4 separate regions of the Homo sapiens genome follow, and regions 1, 3 and 4 are each linked to region 2. The links are contacts of gene promoters, found by promoter capture Hi-C in blood cells and fetal thymus (Javierre and others, 2016). All regions are on one chromosome and are shown on one strand. Each heading gives the region's core, a stretch centred on a gene start or on the middle of the fragment in contact. The rest is flanking DNA. Distances are from core to core; before and after follow the strand shown.

Region 1 (3,440 bases), core at 690-3,189, 110 kb before region 2:
CCGAGTAGCTAAGATTACAGGCATGTGCTACCATGCCCAGCTATTTTTTTTTTTTTTTTTGTATTTTTAGTAGAGATGGGGTTTCACCATGTTGGGCAGGCTGGTCTCGGACTCCTGACCTCGAATGACTGGCCCGCCTCAGCCTCCCGAAGTGCTGGAATTACAGGCGTGAGCCACCGTGCCCGGCCGAACTTACAGATCCTTAAGGGCTCTCTTGGCTGTAAGAGTCTGTGATGCTGGGAGGGCCCTGTGTGGATGGAGGGAACATGAAGGGCTTGGTAGCTGGGGCATGTCCTCTGGCTGCCCCTCCTGCTTAGGGGCTGGCGGGGGTGCATTTTCAGGCAGCCTGTCTAAATAATCAATCCTAAGTCTCATGAATATCTCGAGAACCTGCCAAGGTCAGCCCAGACCAGGACTCAGAGGCAGCTAGCATACATCCGGGATTTGGGTCATTTGACTGGGCTGAGCCAGACCTCGCACAGCTTGGAAGCCTGGGAAGGTTTAGAAAGCACTTCTTCTTCTTCTTCTTTGTTTTTTTTTTTTTTCCATTTGAGACAGAGTCTTGCTGTGTTGCTAGGCTGGAGTGCAGTAGCACGATCTCGGCTCACTGCAACCTCGGCCTCCCGGGTTCAAGCGATTCTCCTGCCTCAGCCTCCCAAGTAGCTGGGACTACAGGCGCACACCACCACGCCCAGCTAATTTTTGTACTTTTGGTAGAGAATTTAGAGAATTCTCAGTCATTTGTGCAAAGTGAGGGTGGGAGAAGAGAGGGCAAGCTACATCGGTCAGCGTGGACCAGTCCCGCAGAGTCATCAGTGCTGGTCAGGAGCTTGCTCAGAGGACGACAGGGAGCTATTGAGAGGTTGGAAAGATCCTGGTTGGACTGGTGTTTTCAAGAGTTCACAGTGGGCACAGTCTCAGCGTTCCCTTTGAGCTCCTTTATTTGTTTTGTTTTGTTTTGTTTTTGAGACGGAGTCTTGCTCTCTTGCCCAGGCTGGAGTGCAGTGGTGTGATCTCAGCTCACTGCAACCTCCACCTCCCGGATTCAAGTGATTCTCCTGCCTCAACCTCCTGAGTGGGCTGGGATTACAGGTGCCCACCACTGTTCCCAGCTAATTTTTGTATTTTTTTTTTTTTTTAGTAGAGACGGGGTTTTGCTGTATCGGCCAGGCTGGTCTTGAATTCCTGACCTCAAGTGATCCACCCACCTCGGCCTCCCAAAGTGCTGGGATTACAAGCTTAAGCCACCTTGCCTGGTCCCCTTTGAGCTCCTTTAAAAGGGGGCTGGAGGTTGCACAATGGACCAGGAGGGTGAAGAAGTATATTCAAATCCTGGTCTGTAATTTACCAGCTGGGTAATCTTGGCCTTGACTTTTCTCAGCCTCACCTTGCTCACCTATCCATCTGGGAATTGTTGCCCAAGCTGGAGTGCAGTGGTATGATCATAGCTCACTGTGGCCTCGAACTTCTGAGCTCAAGCGATCCTCCCGCCTCAGCCTCCTGAGTAGCTGGGACTACAGGTGCACGCCACCAAGGCTGGATGATTTAAAAATTTTTTGTAGAGACAAAATCTTTCTGATCTGGAACTCCTCCCACCACAGATCTCCTGCCACAAAATGCACTCCTGGGGAGCCTTTGTGGAGGTTATTTTGGAGGGACAGGTCTCCACAGGAAGGATGTACAAGGGGAAGCCAAGCAGAGTAGAAGTGGCTCTAAAAGTGGGTGGGAAAGGGACGGAAGTCAGGTAGGGGCTGCCTGAGAGGGGTTCAAAGACGGGGAGTGGAAGGATGGGATTCAAGGAGGGAGGGCGTGTAGAGAGCCCAGACAAGGGCCAGGTGTATCACAGGGGCTCAGTAAATACATGTTTGCTTCCCTCCATTCCTCTTAGTACTGGGAGCTGGAAAGAGAGAAGGTTGGGGCCAGGGTGGGACCCTGGAATTCAGATTTTGAGTGGGGCAGTTTTGGGGGGTGAAAGGGTAAGGGTCAATGGAGATGAGGCAGGCTGGGACCTGGGGTGCAGGGTGATCACCCACATGGCCAGTGGGATCCCCAGGATGAGACAGGAGATGAGGCAGGAAAGGGGGTAGGGGAGAGCAGTGGGACATTGGTCCCTGGGAGTATCAGTGAGGAGGGTGGGTAAGGTTCTGGGTCAGGTCAGGGGCCCACAGCCATATTCCCTGTAGACACCAGATCATGCACTTGAGCCGAGGGGCTAGACCTGGGGCTGGGAGCAGGATAAGAGTCCCTATGCTAAGCTCACCCAGCTGACCAACCCTTCTGTGCTCTTCCCCATCAGCCTGATTTTTGGGGCACTGACCATCATGACCGGCGTCATTGGGGTCATCTTGGGGGCAGAAGCTGCGAGGAGGTACAAGAAAGTCATTCCAGGAGCTGAGCCCCTCATCTGCGCCTCCAGCCTGCTTGCCACAGCCCCCTGCCTCTACCTGGCTCTCGTCCTGGCCCCGACCACCCTGCTGGCCTCCTATGTAAGTGAGAGCCTCTATGGAGGTGGGGACAGGGTTGGGGGGCGAGGAACTCCTGTTTCCACAGGCTCATGCTGCGCCCGGCCTTTATGTACAATTATGTTGATCACTCCTTCTGAGTAGAGCTTGTTATCCCCATTTTACAGATCAGTAAAGAGAAGCTTGGCTGGACGCGGTGGCTCATGTCTGTAATCCTAGCACTTTGGGAGGTCAAGGCCGGCCTGGCCAATATGGTGAAACCCTGTCTCTACTAAAAATACAAAAAATTAGCTGGGCATGGTGGCAGGCACCTATAATCCCAGCTGCTTGGGAGGCTGAGGCAGGAGAATCGCTTGAACGCGGGAGGTGGAGGTTGCAGTGAGCTGAGATTGCGCCACTGCACTCCAGCCTGGGCAATGGAGCAAGACTCCATCTTGGGGGAAAAAAACAGAGAGAGAAGCTTACCAGGAGTTCCACAGTGAAGAAGGGGCAGAACTGGGATTTGAGCCTGAGCTTTTCTGACTGTAAAAGGTGTCCTCTGAGCATTGGGTTAATGTGTTAATTTGAGAAAATAGGACTCATTTATTGCCAGGGCATATTGTGGGCCCAAGAAGAAATAGAGCAATTCTCCCCAGGTTACAGAGGAGGGAAGCAAGGCCCAGATTGGTTATGGCCAATGTGGACGCTGCTTTAAGGGCAATAATCATGGTAATATCAAGTGTTCCAAATCCACATCCCATCACACCCCTTCATGGGCCTCACACTCTGGCTGTGCCAGCCGTGTGGGCACACACACTTCCCAGACTTTGCACGCGTCCATTTCTTCCACCAAGAACACCAGTTCCTCTTTTGTGCATCCTGAAATCCTCCTTCTGCAAGACTCAACTCAAAGTCCGCTTCCTCCAAAAGCCTTCCCCTACCACTCTATCCTCACACCAGAATTCACGTTCCCACTTGGGCTCAGCACCTGTTTGGGTC
Region 2 (3,699 bases), core at 1,101-3,600:
GGGTCCCTGAAGCCACAAGCCCCAACACATCAGCCTCTGTGTCATCCAGGCTGCCACGGAGGATGAGGGGGCAGGCCCAGGCACTAGTGGTAGACTTGGCCACCAGGTTGCTGAGCAGAACCCCAGTGCTTGGGGACAGGTGTGCAGAGCCAAAGGAGCAGTTGAGCGAGGAGGTGAGAAGGAGCACAGAGCCGCTGCTGTCCACGGCGGCCAGGGCACTGCTCTCGGGGCTCACAGCAGTCTGCAGGAACGGTGGGCAGGGGTCAGGGATGGGCGCCCCGGAGCGCAGGGCTGCCTCCAACAGTGCCAGCAGTTCTGGGCCAGCTGAGGGACTGGGGGTGGTGAACAGGATGCCCTGGGGCACAGGTAGCTGCTCTGCTGGTTCCAAAGTGGGCCTGGGCACAGCCGAGGGCACCTCCACCCCCAGGTCTCCCGCCAGTAGACTCAGTAGAGCATCCCCAGCAAGGTCTGAGGTGGGAGCGAGGGCTGCGCTGCGAAGCACAGCTGCCAGTTGTGGGTTGGTGGCTCGGGCCCCAGCGCCCAGGGGTGTCCCATCAGCATGGCAAAGTAGTGGACAGAGGCCTTCTGTGCCCCGAGCCACCAGAGCCCTTGCCAGGGGTGTGTCCACCAGGAAGCCCTCCTGAGCCAGCGTGGTGGGGCCCACTAGCAGGCGTGGCCAGGGCAGGCGGCCGAAGCGTGCATGCAGCAGGTGCAGGGTGGGCAGAGCCGCGGGCAGCCCCAGGCCGGGGGCCAGGGTCTGTGCTGGGCCTGATGTCAGGGCCGTGGAATTGCCTGAGGAGCTATCGTGGAAGAGGCCCCAAAACATGGCACCTGCAGGAGACAGAGGGGTCCCTCAGCAGCCGCAGGTCAAGGGTCACTGACTTGTTTCAGTCAAGATCCCTTGACTGAGCCTGGGATCAGGAGTTACTGACCAGGCCTGAGGTCAAAGTTCCACAGACCCGGGCTCAAGGGTCATAGCCTGGGGTTGGACTGCTGCCCAAACCCTAAGTCCTGCTCACTTAGCAGTCTTGAGGTCAGTGCTACTGACTCCCTAAGTTCCAGGTCACTGATCAGGCTGTGGGTTGGGGTTGCAGTCTGGGGTCAGGGGTCACTGACCTAGCCCCGTGGCATGAGGATGCACCACTGCCAGGCACAATGCAGCTCCAACTCCAGCATCCACGACGTTGCCCCCGGCAACAAGCAGCTCTCGGCCTAGGTGGGAGCATGTGGCTGCAGCAAGGAAGGCACTGTCATGCAGCAAGGAGGGGGGCTAGGCTGGGCTGGTGACCCCTGACCCTCCCCTCCCCAAGCCGCCCCCAGCACTGACTGACCTGCAGGGCTGATGATGGCACCGTGGTGGTATACGCCAGGGCCGTGGGAGTGTCCGCCGGGTGGAGGGGCCACAGAGCCCAAGCTTCCTGTCGACCTGCCCTGATTCTGGAGCTGCCTCACAGCCAGGGAGCAGCCAACAGCCAGCAGCAGCAGGGCTGCCACTACACGGGCCCAGGTTCCGGGCAGCCCGCCAGCCTTGTTCCTGCAGAGGGGGGGTGTCCTGAGCCACGGCTGGGACAGAGGGATGCCCAAGGACCCCAAGAGACCCCAGGGAATATTTCCCAAAAGGTTTGATTTAGCAAGAGGAGCACAAGTCAGCCAAGGAGAAAGGGCTTCTTGGCAGCGGGTGCATCTTGGGCAGACATGGGGATGGGAAAGCATCTGGGGAAACTGAGCCTAGCTAGGGAGGGAGCCTCTGGAGGGGAGATTGGTGGGGCAGAGTCCACTCAGGTGGGAGGGAGGCCCAGTGGGGTGTGGCAGGCAGGAGAGAAGGGGCTGGGGAGCAGGCCCAGCCAGGCGTAGTCAGGCCCCAACCTGCCCAGCAGGTGCCTCCTGCACCAGGACTTGGGGGCTGGGGACCTTTGACAAAGCAGCAGATGGGACAGAGGCTGGCTTGGTACAAATGTCCCTCCAGATGCACAGACTTTTGATTGGGTCAGGCCAAGTCTCGGGCTACAGCCTGGGTTTTCCCCCAAATTGACCGTACAGTGCCTGGAGCTAAACCCAGCGGGGAGTCGCCTGGTCCCCCTGAGGGGCTCCAGAGAGAGGGACTTGCCAACCTCAAGCCTGGGGAGCCTGGTGCCCAGACCCCTCCCTTACTTACCTGGAAGAGTCCTGGTGCCTCCGGGGGTTTAGAACCAGCGCCTCTGATGTCTCCTCCTCCTCCACTTCCTCCTCCGACTCCAAGCTTGGCTCCCAGGGCAGCAGCTTCTGATAGACCACGGGCTCTTCTGCCCGCTCCATGGCCCCCCAGTGCTCGCCCCAGCCCTCCTGCCTGCCAGCCTTTCCGGCTGTGTCTCAGAGGCCCTGCCCAAGCCTGGCAGGTGGGAGGTGGCAGCGACCTTGGGGAAGGGTGGGGGTGGAATCCAGAACAGGTCTGGGCAGGGCACGGGGCCAAGGAGGCTGCATGTGAGCCTGCCCCATTAGGACACAAGGCCCGAGGAGCTCTCGCGACAGGGTTCCCGGGGTGACTGCCTGTAAGGGGCCACAGCTCAGTGAGGTCGAGAAGGAGTTCAGCCTTAATGCCACAACCTTGATACTCAGGGCACCTGCTGGGCTCCTCCCCTTGGGGGATGTAGCCCATGGATCCCACCCACCTGGGACTCTAGGGACTGTGGACTTGAATTAGAGCTACGGTTTCACGGTGGCTTGGGTCAGAGCTCCCACGTGCTTGAGTCTGCACGTGACTAGGTTCTGGCGTAGGGGTGTCTGGTCTCTGGCCGGGGTCAAGGCTCAGCCTGTGGCTACTCTGGGTCTGGGTTTCTTTGAGGAGCAACTTGGTTCGTAACTCCCTGTGCGTGTTTTGCGACTCTTGTCCAGAAGGTAGCGCCACAGCCTGGAAACCAACATTTCTAAATTCATTCTGGGATTCCCATCAAGGACTTGTTGCAAAACAGTGCTGTTTGTAACAGTCCCAAATTGGAAAGTGCCCAAACATCCATTATCGTTAGAATGAATGATGTAAGTCACAATGGACCACTCTGCAGCAAAGAGAGTGAGTGATCTACAATTATATGCAATAATATACACAGGTCTGACAAGCATAAGGACGAGGGAAAGCAGCCAGGCAGGAGACAGCGCACGCTATATGCTTTCATTTACACAAAGTACACAAACAGGCAACAACAAAAGAGCAACAACAGTCTGCCCTTAGAAGTCAGATAGTGACTGGAGGAGGTACCAGGGGGTTTCTGGAATGCTGGAGATGTCCTTTCTTTCCTTCCTTTCTTTCCTTTCCTTTTTCCTTTACCTTTCTTTTCTTTCTCTTCTTTCTTTCTTGACAGAGTTTTCATTCTTGTTGCCCAGGCTGGAGTGCAATGGTGCAATCTCAGCTCACTGCAACTTCCACCTCCTGGGTTCAAGCAATTCTTCTGCCTCAGCCTCCCGAGTAGCTGGGATTACAGGCACATGCCACCACGCCTGGCTAATTTTTTGTATTTTTAGTAGAGACAGGGTTTCACCATGTTGGCCAGCCTGGTCTTGAACTCTTGACCTCAGGTGATCCGCCCGCCTCAGCCTCCCAAAAGTACTAGGATTACGGGTGTGAGCCACCGCGCCCGGCCGAGATGTTGTTTCTTAATCTGAGTGTTGGTGACACGAGTGCCCTGGGTGTGAAAATGCATTGAGTTGGGCATTGATGACGTGTAC
Region 3 (3,334 bases), core at 93-2,592, 100 kb after region 2:
AAAGACATTAATGGGAAAATTCACATATGGACAACATATTAGATAACAGTATTCTCTCATTTGTTAAAATTCTTGACTGATAATTGTATCGTGATTGTGTAAGAGAATGTCCTCAATCTTGGGAAATACTATATAAATATTCAGGAGTATATTAGTGTTTAAGAATAAGGTATGATGGTGCAACTTACTCTCAAATGGTTCAAGAAAGAAAATTCAGATATCGCCAGGCGTGGTGGCTCACGCCTGTAATCCCAGCACTTTGGGAGGCCGAGGCAGGCAGATCACGAGGTCAGGAGATCGAGACCATCCTGGCTAACATGGTGAAACCCCGTCTCTACTAAAAATACAAAAAATTAGCTGGGTGCGGTGGCGGGTGCCTGTAGTCCCAGCTACTCGGGAGGCTGAGGCAGGAGAATGGTGTGAACCTGGGAGGCGGAGCTTGCCATGAGCCGAGATCGCGCCACTGCACTCCAGCCTGGGCGACAGAGTGAGACTCCGTCTCAAAAAAATAAATAAATAAAAATTAAAAAAAAGAAAGAAAGAAAAAGAAAACTCAGATATCAAGAAAGTGAATGTGGCAAACTTTAATATTTGGTTAGTCTAAGTTCAGGGTAGCTGTTGAACTGCTATTGTTATCTTTTCTACAGATCTGAAAATGTTTGGGGAATAAATGAAGTTCTAGATGTTTGTCAGCTGAAATACTAGTTTGCTATAGTATAAAGGTCAAAATGTCCCGCTTTTTGTCTCCAGCCACGTAGGATTGGTAGAGCTCCCCAACCTTCTTCTAGCCAGAATACCTGCCCCTCAGACTGTCCAAAACACAGGCACTACTCTCCAAACCCTTCTGATACCTTTATATCTTCCCACCACACTCAACCCCTTTATGGACCTGGCAGCTCTCTCTTGGGGCACCCATTTGTACTCTATTACCTAACAATTTCCCTTCATTGTATTTATCCATTTACCTTTCTCTTTCTCGGGAGACTGAGAGACCCCTGGAGACAGTGACTGTGTAGTTTTCATTTTTATCTCCAACATCTAGCACAACATGTGGCCTACAGGAAGTACTATATGCATGTTGCGGAAGGAACAAGTGAATGAAAGGCTTGCTGGGTGGAAAAGCAGACAGTGTAGTTGCAGTACGACAAATGAGGCCGGGTGCGGTGGCTCACGCCTGTAATCCCAACACTTTGGGAGGCCAAGGAGGGTGGATCGACTGAGGTCGGGAGTTCGAGACCAGCCTGACCAACGTGGAGAAACCCCATCTCTACTAAAAATACAAAATTAGCTGGGCATGGTAGCACATGCCTGTAATCCCAGCAACTCGGGAGGCTGAGGCAGGAGAATCGCTTGAACCCGGGAGGCGGAGGTTGCGGTGAGCTGAGATCGCGCGCCACCGTACTGTACCCTAGGCAACAAGAGCGAAACTCTGTCTAAAAAAAAAAAAAGACAAATGAAAGCAGGGCTGGTTGGCAGGAACTGAACTGGTCAGAGTGTAAATGAGTGCAGGTTCTTAGTGTTCAAGACCCAAAAGTGTGGCTTCAGCACCATGTTTCACAGGAGAGGCTGAGAAACCAAAGACATGGGAGACTTCAGGGAGTTAGATGTCCGAAAGGTGAAGAAATCTGGGGCAACACTTAGTTCAAGTGTTGGGAAACATTAGAACAGCATGAGATAAGGCAGACCAAGGGTCTTTGCAAAGGACTGAAAACGAGAAGAAACCTCTTGAGCTCTGGATCCCATGCGGGAGCATTTCCTTGACTTCGTGTGCACAAATATCTCTTTATGCCGAGTCTTTTGCCAGGAACCACATGGAGAAAAGAAGGCCTAACACACAACCCTTGTCCAGGGGGTCTACAGATAAGTTGCTATTTAGGGAAATCCACTGGGCAGTTTGTAGGGAGGTCACTCATCCAGTATTTGAAAACAGATTTGCACTGGACCCAGACAGGTCAAAGACTAGAAGTGGAAGTGACCCAGGCCCCGGGACTGAGGATCCATGAGACCCCACAGTGACAAAGTCCTAAGAATGGCACCCTGTGGGCTCCCTAGGATCTGTGCCCTGAGAACTGCCCCTCAAAGTCTCCTTGGCTTGCAAGGGGTGAAGTGGGGGGAGGGTGTGCCATGCTAGGGGTGCCCTACCACCCCAGCCCATTCTTTTTTGTTGCATTCAGTCAAAAGGGAGCAGGCTGCAACAGACGGTGTGAGAGGAACCCGAGCAGCTAAGCTCCCATCAGAACTCAGTTTCTCAATCTGCTCCAGCAATGCACATCCACCCCGCTGGAGAGGGAGCCTCCCCGGGTTCTTGCAGAGCTTATCCTACTGCAGGTGATGGTTTGCTTATCTCCCACGTTCAGCTCAAAGAACTGAGGAGGAACCACAATTAGACATTCGTTTGTTCATTGGTTCATTCATTCATTCGTTACTGAGCCCCTTCTACATAACAGGAATTTGGAACTGGGGATGCAGCAACAGACAAACCAACAATGTCTCTGCTCTAATGGTGTTTACATTCTATTGCGAGGAGACCAACTAAATATTCAAAAATATATATCATATATATCAGGTGGGGGGTGGGGGAAGCAGGAGCTAATGAGGGGAGATGGAGGCAAGAGGGGAGTTTTAGACAGGATGGCCAGTTAAGGCTTCTGAAGAGAAAGCATCAAACCTCTGCCTCTGTTGGGGTGGCCAGGGCCCAGAAGCCTGAGATCTTGGAGCTCTGCCTCTCTGTCCCTGCAGACTGAGAAGGAACCATAGAGAGGCTGAGGAGCAGCTGCTCCCTGGCCGACAGAAACCATTCAAAGAACATACCATTCAGGAACCAAGTAGGGCAGGCGCCTGGGTTGCCACAGTCCCTGTGCTGAGGTGTGAGTGGCGGCGGAGCAGGGCCGGCACCTCACCGCACCATCTTCTCTCCTTCCTTCACGAGGTCTTACTCTTCCCCAGATCCAATGGACATTTCTCAACAGCACGATGTTTTCTATGTTTTCTGCCTCCTGTTTGAAGTTCTTTTCTGGGACATGGCCTTCTCCAAGTCCTCTTCACGCTCCTTAAAGGGGCTCCTCTTGCCCCTAAAATGTGGTGTGATGTGGTTCCACTTAAGCCCACGTCTCTTTCCACTCCAGTCATCCTCCCTGGGTGACCTGCCCCCTCCCAAATCTTCTCCAGCCCTGAACCCTGTCCTCAACTACACACCTCACATATCCAGCTGCTTCTTACCCCAGAGGTACTGCTCATTCAAATGTTCTACATTATTGTCAGCATGTGAATTCCCTTGGAGCAGCATCTTGGATAATATGCATTTCCCCAATGCCTGGTGCCCTGGCTTGTGCAC
Region 4 (3,606 bases), core at 762-3,261, 86 kb after region 2:
GGTTTTCGCTATGTTGGCCAGGCTAGTCTCGAACTCCTGGCCTCATGTGATCAGCCTGCCTCAGCCTCCCAAAGTGCTGGGATTACAGGTGTGAGCCACCGTGCCCAACCAAAAGGTTTTTTTTATAAGTGAAATTCAGAAAAATCAAAATGTGGTGGGTAAAATTCATCTTCCATAGAAATGGCACAAACCCAGTAATTTTCTTGCAGATTAAAAGTGTGATTGAAGAGTTGGGAAGGCTTCCAAAAGTAATTCACAGTAACTTGTGGGTAGACTGAGTGAGGTTAGATTATGATGCAGTTGTGATGGGAGAGGAAAGACCCAGGCCATTTCTTCCCGTCTTGGATAGGGATATCTATGGTGGTTAGCCTATGCCTGTTCCAACATTGTATGTTGGGGGTGGGGTCAGATGACTTTCTCTTTAGTTTACAGGTCTTCAGAAGAAGAGGAGCCCAGGCACGGTGGCTCATGCCTGTAATCCCAGCACTTTGGGAGGTCGAGGTGGGAGAATCAGCTGAGTTCAGGAGTTCAAGACCAGCCTGACCAACATGGTGAAACCTCATCTCTACTAAAAATACAAAAAGTAGCCAGGCATGGTGGTGGACACCTGTAATCCCAGCTACTCAGGAGGCTGAGGCAGGAGAATCGCTTGAACCCCAGAGGCAGAGATTGCAGTGACCTGAGATCGTGCCACTGCACTCCAGCCTGGGCAACAGAGTGAAACTTCTTTAAAAAAGAAAAAAAAAAAGAAGAGGAGGAATTGTATTCTGGAAGTATACTTAAGGTAATACAGTTGAGAAATCTCATCTATACATGGACCTGATTTAGATGATGAAATTCTAGACTTTGAGCTGATGCTATAATGGGATTCGACTTTGGGGTAGCTTGAGAGGGAGCGAGTGTATTTTGCATGTGGAAGGAATGTAAATCACCAGAATTCAGAGGGCATGCTCGTGGTGGCCATTCTTTAAAACATCCCCCAGTGATTCCGACCTCCTGATATGCATGCCTTTCCATAGTCTCCTACATTGTGTCTGGGTTGGTCTGCAAAGCCAATGCAGTATGAAATGATGTGTGTGACTTCCAAAGCTAGGTCCTAAAAGACATTAGGGCTTTCCGTCTCCTCCCTCCCCACTCTCCCTCTTTCTTGTTCTGCTTTCTCTGAGAGAAATTAACTACTATGTCATGAGGTCACTCAAGAAACTCTATGGAGAGGTCCACGTGGCAAGGAACTGAGCCCTCCTGCTACGAGCCAGTGAGGAACTGAACCCTCCAACTACCAACCACGTGGGGCAGCCATCTTGGAAACAGATCCTCCTGCCCCGGTTAAGACTTCAGATGACTACAGCCAATCTCTTGACTGAAACCTCATAAGACTCTTGAACTAGAACCAACTGACTCCCAAAACTGTGTAAGGTAATGGGTGTTTTTTGTTTTGTTTTGTTTTTGAGACAGGGTCTTGCTCTGTCACTCAAGCTGGAGTGCAGTGGCATGGTCACAGCTGACTGTAGCCTCCACCTCCCAGGCTCAAGTGATCTTCCCACCTCAGCTTCCCAAGTAGCTGGGACCACAGGCATGTGCCATCACACCACTGAGTTTTGAGGTCGTTGTAAAGCAGAAATAGATAACTAATACGGTCTGCATGCTTATTTTCTGAATCCTCAAACTCCCAAGCTTATGTAAAGCCAAAAAATATTCAATGAACTGACCACTTTCAAAATTAGTTCACTCACCTCTTCCTCCTTTTTTTTTTTTGTGGCTTTTGTTTTTTTGTGTTTGTTTGTTTGTTTGTTTTTGACCCAGAGTCTCGCTCTGTCACCCAGGCTGGAGTGCAATGGTGCGATTTCGGCTCACTGCAACCTCCACCTCCCAGGTTCAAGCAATTCTCCTGCCTCAGTCTCCCGAGTAGCTGGGAAAACAGGCGCTTGCCGCTATGCCTGGATGATTTTTTGTATTTTTGATAGAGACAGGGTTTCACTGTGTTGCCCAGGCTGGTGTCAAACTCCTGAGCTCAGGTGATCGGCCCGCCTCGGCCTCCCAAAGTGCTGGGATTACAGGCGTGAGCCACTGCACCCGGTTCTTCCTGCTTTATTAATGCCAGCTACCTTTGTCCATCTAACTGGCTACAGAGTGAAATTTCAAGTCTTGAAACATTAGAAGACTTTGTAAAGTCCATAGAAGTACTGTTAGAAAACGGATCAGTCAGCAAAGCAACTGACAAATAATGTTGATGTTGAAAGAAGAGGCATCCACCTGAAGTGGTTCAGATGAGCTGAGCAGGGACAGGAGAGGGCCAGTCAATAAGTGACACATTGGCTGCAGTCAAAGCGACAGGCTTGGACAACGAACAAAGCTTTTCTATGCAGGTGATGTCCACTGGTCACTTATGTGTACCCTCTCTGTCCCGATATGGCTCCAGGACACTGACATCAGATGATATTTCCAAGGTAAGTGCAGAGAAGACCCTGGATGTGGACTTTGCTTCTCCATGGGCCTCCTAATGCCTGGGTTTTTGAAACTCAAAAATCCAAAACTGAGCTCAAGTGCAGTAAGCCCCAGCTGAGATTATGAAAGTACCAGGATCATAAAGATACATGTGTCCACTGGGTGCAGTGGCTCCTACCTGGAATCCCAGCACTTTTGGAGTCTGAGGCGAGAGGATCACTTGAGCTCAGGAGACCAGCCTGGGCAACATCGTGAGATTCTGTCTCTACAAAAATAAAAATTGGCCGGGTGCGGTGGCTCACGCCTGTAATCCCAGCACTTTGGGAGGCCAAGGCGGGTGGATCACCTGAGGTTGGGAGTTCGAGACCAGCCTGGCCAACATAATGAAACCCTGTCTCTAATAAAAATACAAAAATTAGCCGAGCATGGTGGTGGGCAACTATAGTCCTAGCTACTTGGGAGGCTGAGGCATGAGAATCACTTGAACCCAGGAGGCAGAGGTTGCAATGATCCGAGATCGTGGCCACTGCACTGCAGCCTAGGTGACAGAGCGAGACTCCATCTCAAAAAATAAAAACAAAAATAAAAAATATTAGCTGGGCATGATGGTGTTTGCCTGTAATCCCAGCTGTGTGGGAAGCTGAGATGCAAGGATCACTTCAGCCCAGGAGTTCGAGGCTGCAGTGAGCTATGATTGTGCCTGTGAACTCCAGCCTGGACAACAGAGGGAGACCCTGTCTCTGAAAAAACAAAATCAAAAAAATATGTTAATATCGTACTTTACAAGTATTATTTTGTCAAAGTGGTGTCGAGAATGTCAAATATTGCTTCTCAGCTGGGCGCGGTGGCTCACGCCTGGAATCCCAATGCTTTGGGAGGCTGAGGCGGATCACCTGATCAGGTCAGGAGTTCGAGACCAGCCTGGCCAACATGGTGAAACCCCATCTCTACTAAAAATACAAAAATTAGCCAGTCATGATGGTGCGCACCTGTGATCCCAGCTACTTGGGAGGCTGAGGCAGGAGAATGGCTTGAACCTGGGAGGTGGAGCTTGCAGTGAGCCGAGATTGCGCCACTGCACTCCAGCCTGGGCAACAGAGCGAGACTGTGTCTCAAAACAAAACAAAGAACATGTCACTGAAATGTAGGCCTGAGGGAAAG

Evidence for each region. Contacts are between HindIII fragments. The CHiCAGO score rates a contact against its expected background, and 5 or more counts as called.
Region 1: a fragment that was not itself captured here is called in contact with the fragment with the promoter of GGT6 in region 2 in 4 of 17 cell types (endothelial precursors, M1 macrophages, M2 macrophages and 1 more); the score reaches 7.4 in endothelial precursors.
Region 3: a fragment that was not itself captured here is called in contact with the fragment with the promoter of GGT6 in region 2 in 1 of 17 cell types (M1 macrophages); the score reaches 5.8 in M1 macrophages.
Region 4: a contact is called between a fragment that was not itself captured here and the fragment with the promoter of GGT6 in region 2, in 2 of 17 cell types (M1 macrophages and endothelial precursors). The highest score is 7.0, in M1 macrophages.

Annotation. Positions count from the first base shown.
Region 1 is chr17:4,450,720-4,454,159 of GRCh38, forward strand. It overlaps SPNS3 (SPNS lysolipid transporter 3, sphingosine-1-phosphate (putative)), which reads left to right. Exons shown (of 12, transcript NM_182538.5): 8 at 2,297-2,486. Among named protein-coding and RNA genes, the nearest start is that of SPNS3, 18 kb to the left of the region's middle. The HindIII fragment of the contact is 1,406 bases long and covers 1,237-2,642 here.
Region 2 is chr17:4,558,227-4,561,925 of GRCh38, forward strand. GGT6 (gamma-glutamyltransferase 6) reads right to left here and starts at 2,351. Exons shown (of 4, transcript NM_001288702.2): 1 at 2,156-2,351; 2 at 1,332-1,534; 3 at 1,117-1,230; 4 at 1-831. The coding sequence starts at 2,295. The HindIII fragment of the contact is 2,996 bases long and covers 2,238-3,699 here.
Region 3 is chr17:4,661,558-4,664,891 of GRCh38, forward strand. All of the region lies in intron 2 of LOC105371499 (a long non-coding RNA gene), which reads left to right. Among named protein-coding and RNA genes, the nearest start is that of ALOX15, 22 kb to the left of the region's middle. RefSeq lists an enhancer at 2,627-2,796. The HindIII fragment of the contact is 7,116 bases long and covers 1-3,334 here.
Region 4 is chr17:4,644,584-4,648,189 of GRCh38, forward strand. It overlaps LOC105371499 (a long non-coding RNA gene), which reads left to right and starts at 426. Exons shown (of 3, transcript XR_001752768.2): 1 at 426-1,416; 2 at 2,367-2,447. RefSeq lists a silencer at 3,531-3,606. The HindIII fragment of the contact is 679 bases long and covers 1,673-2,351 here.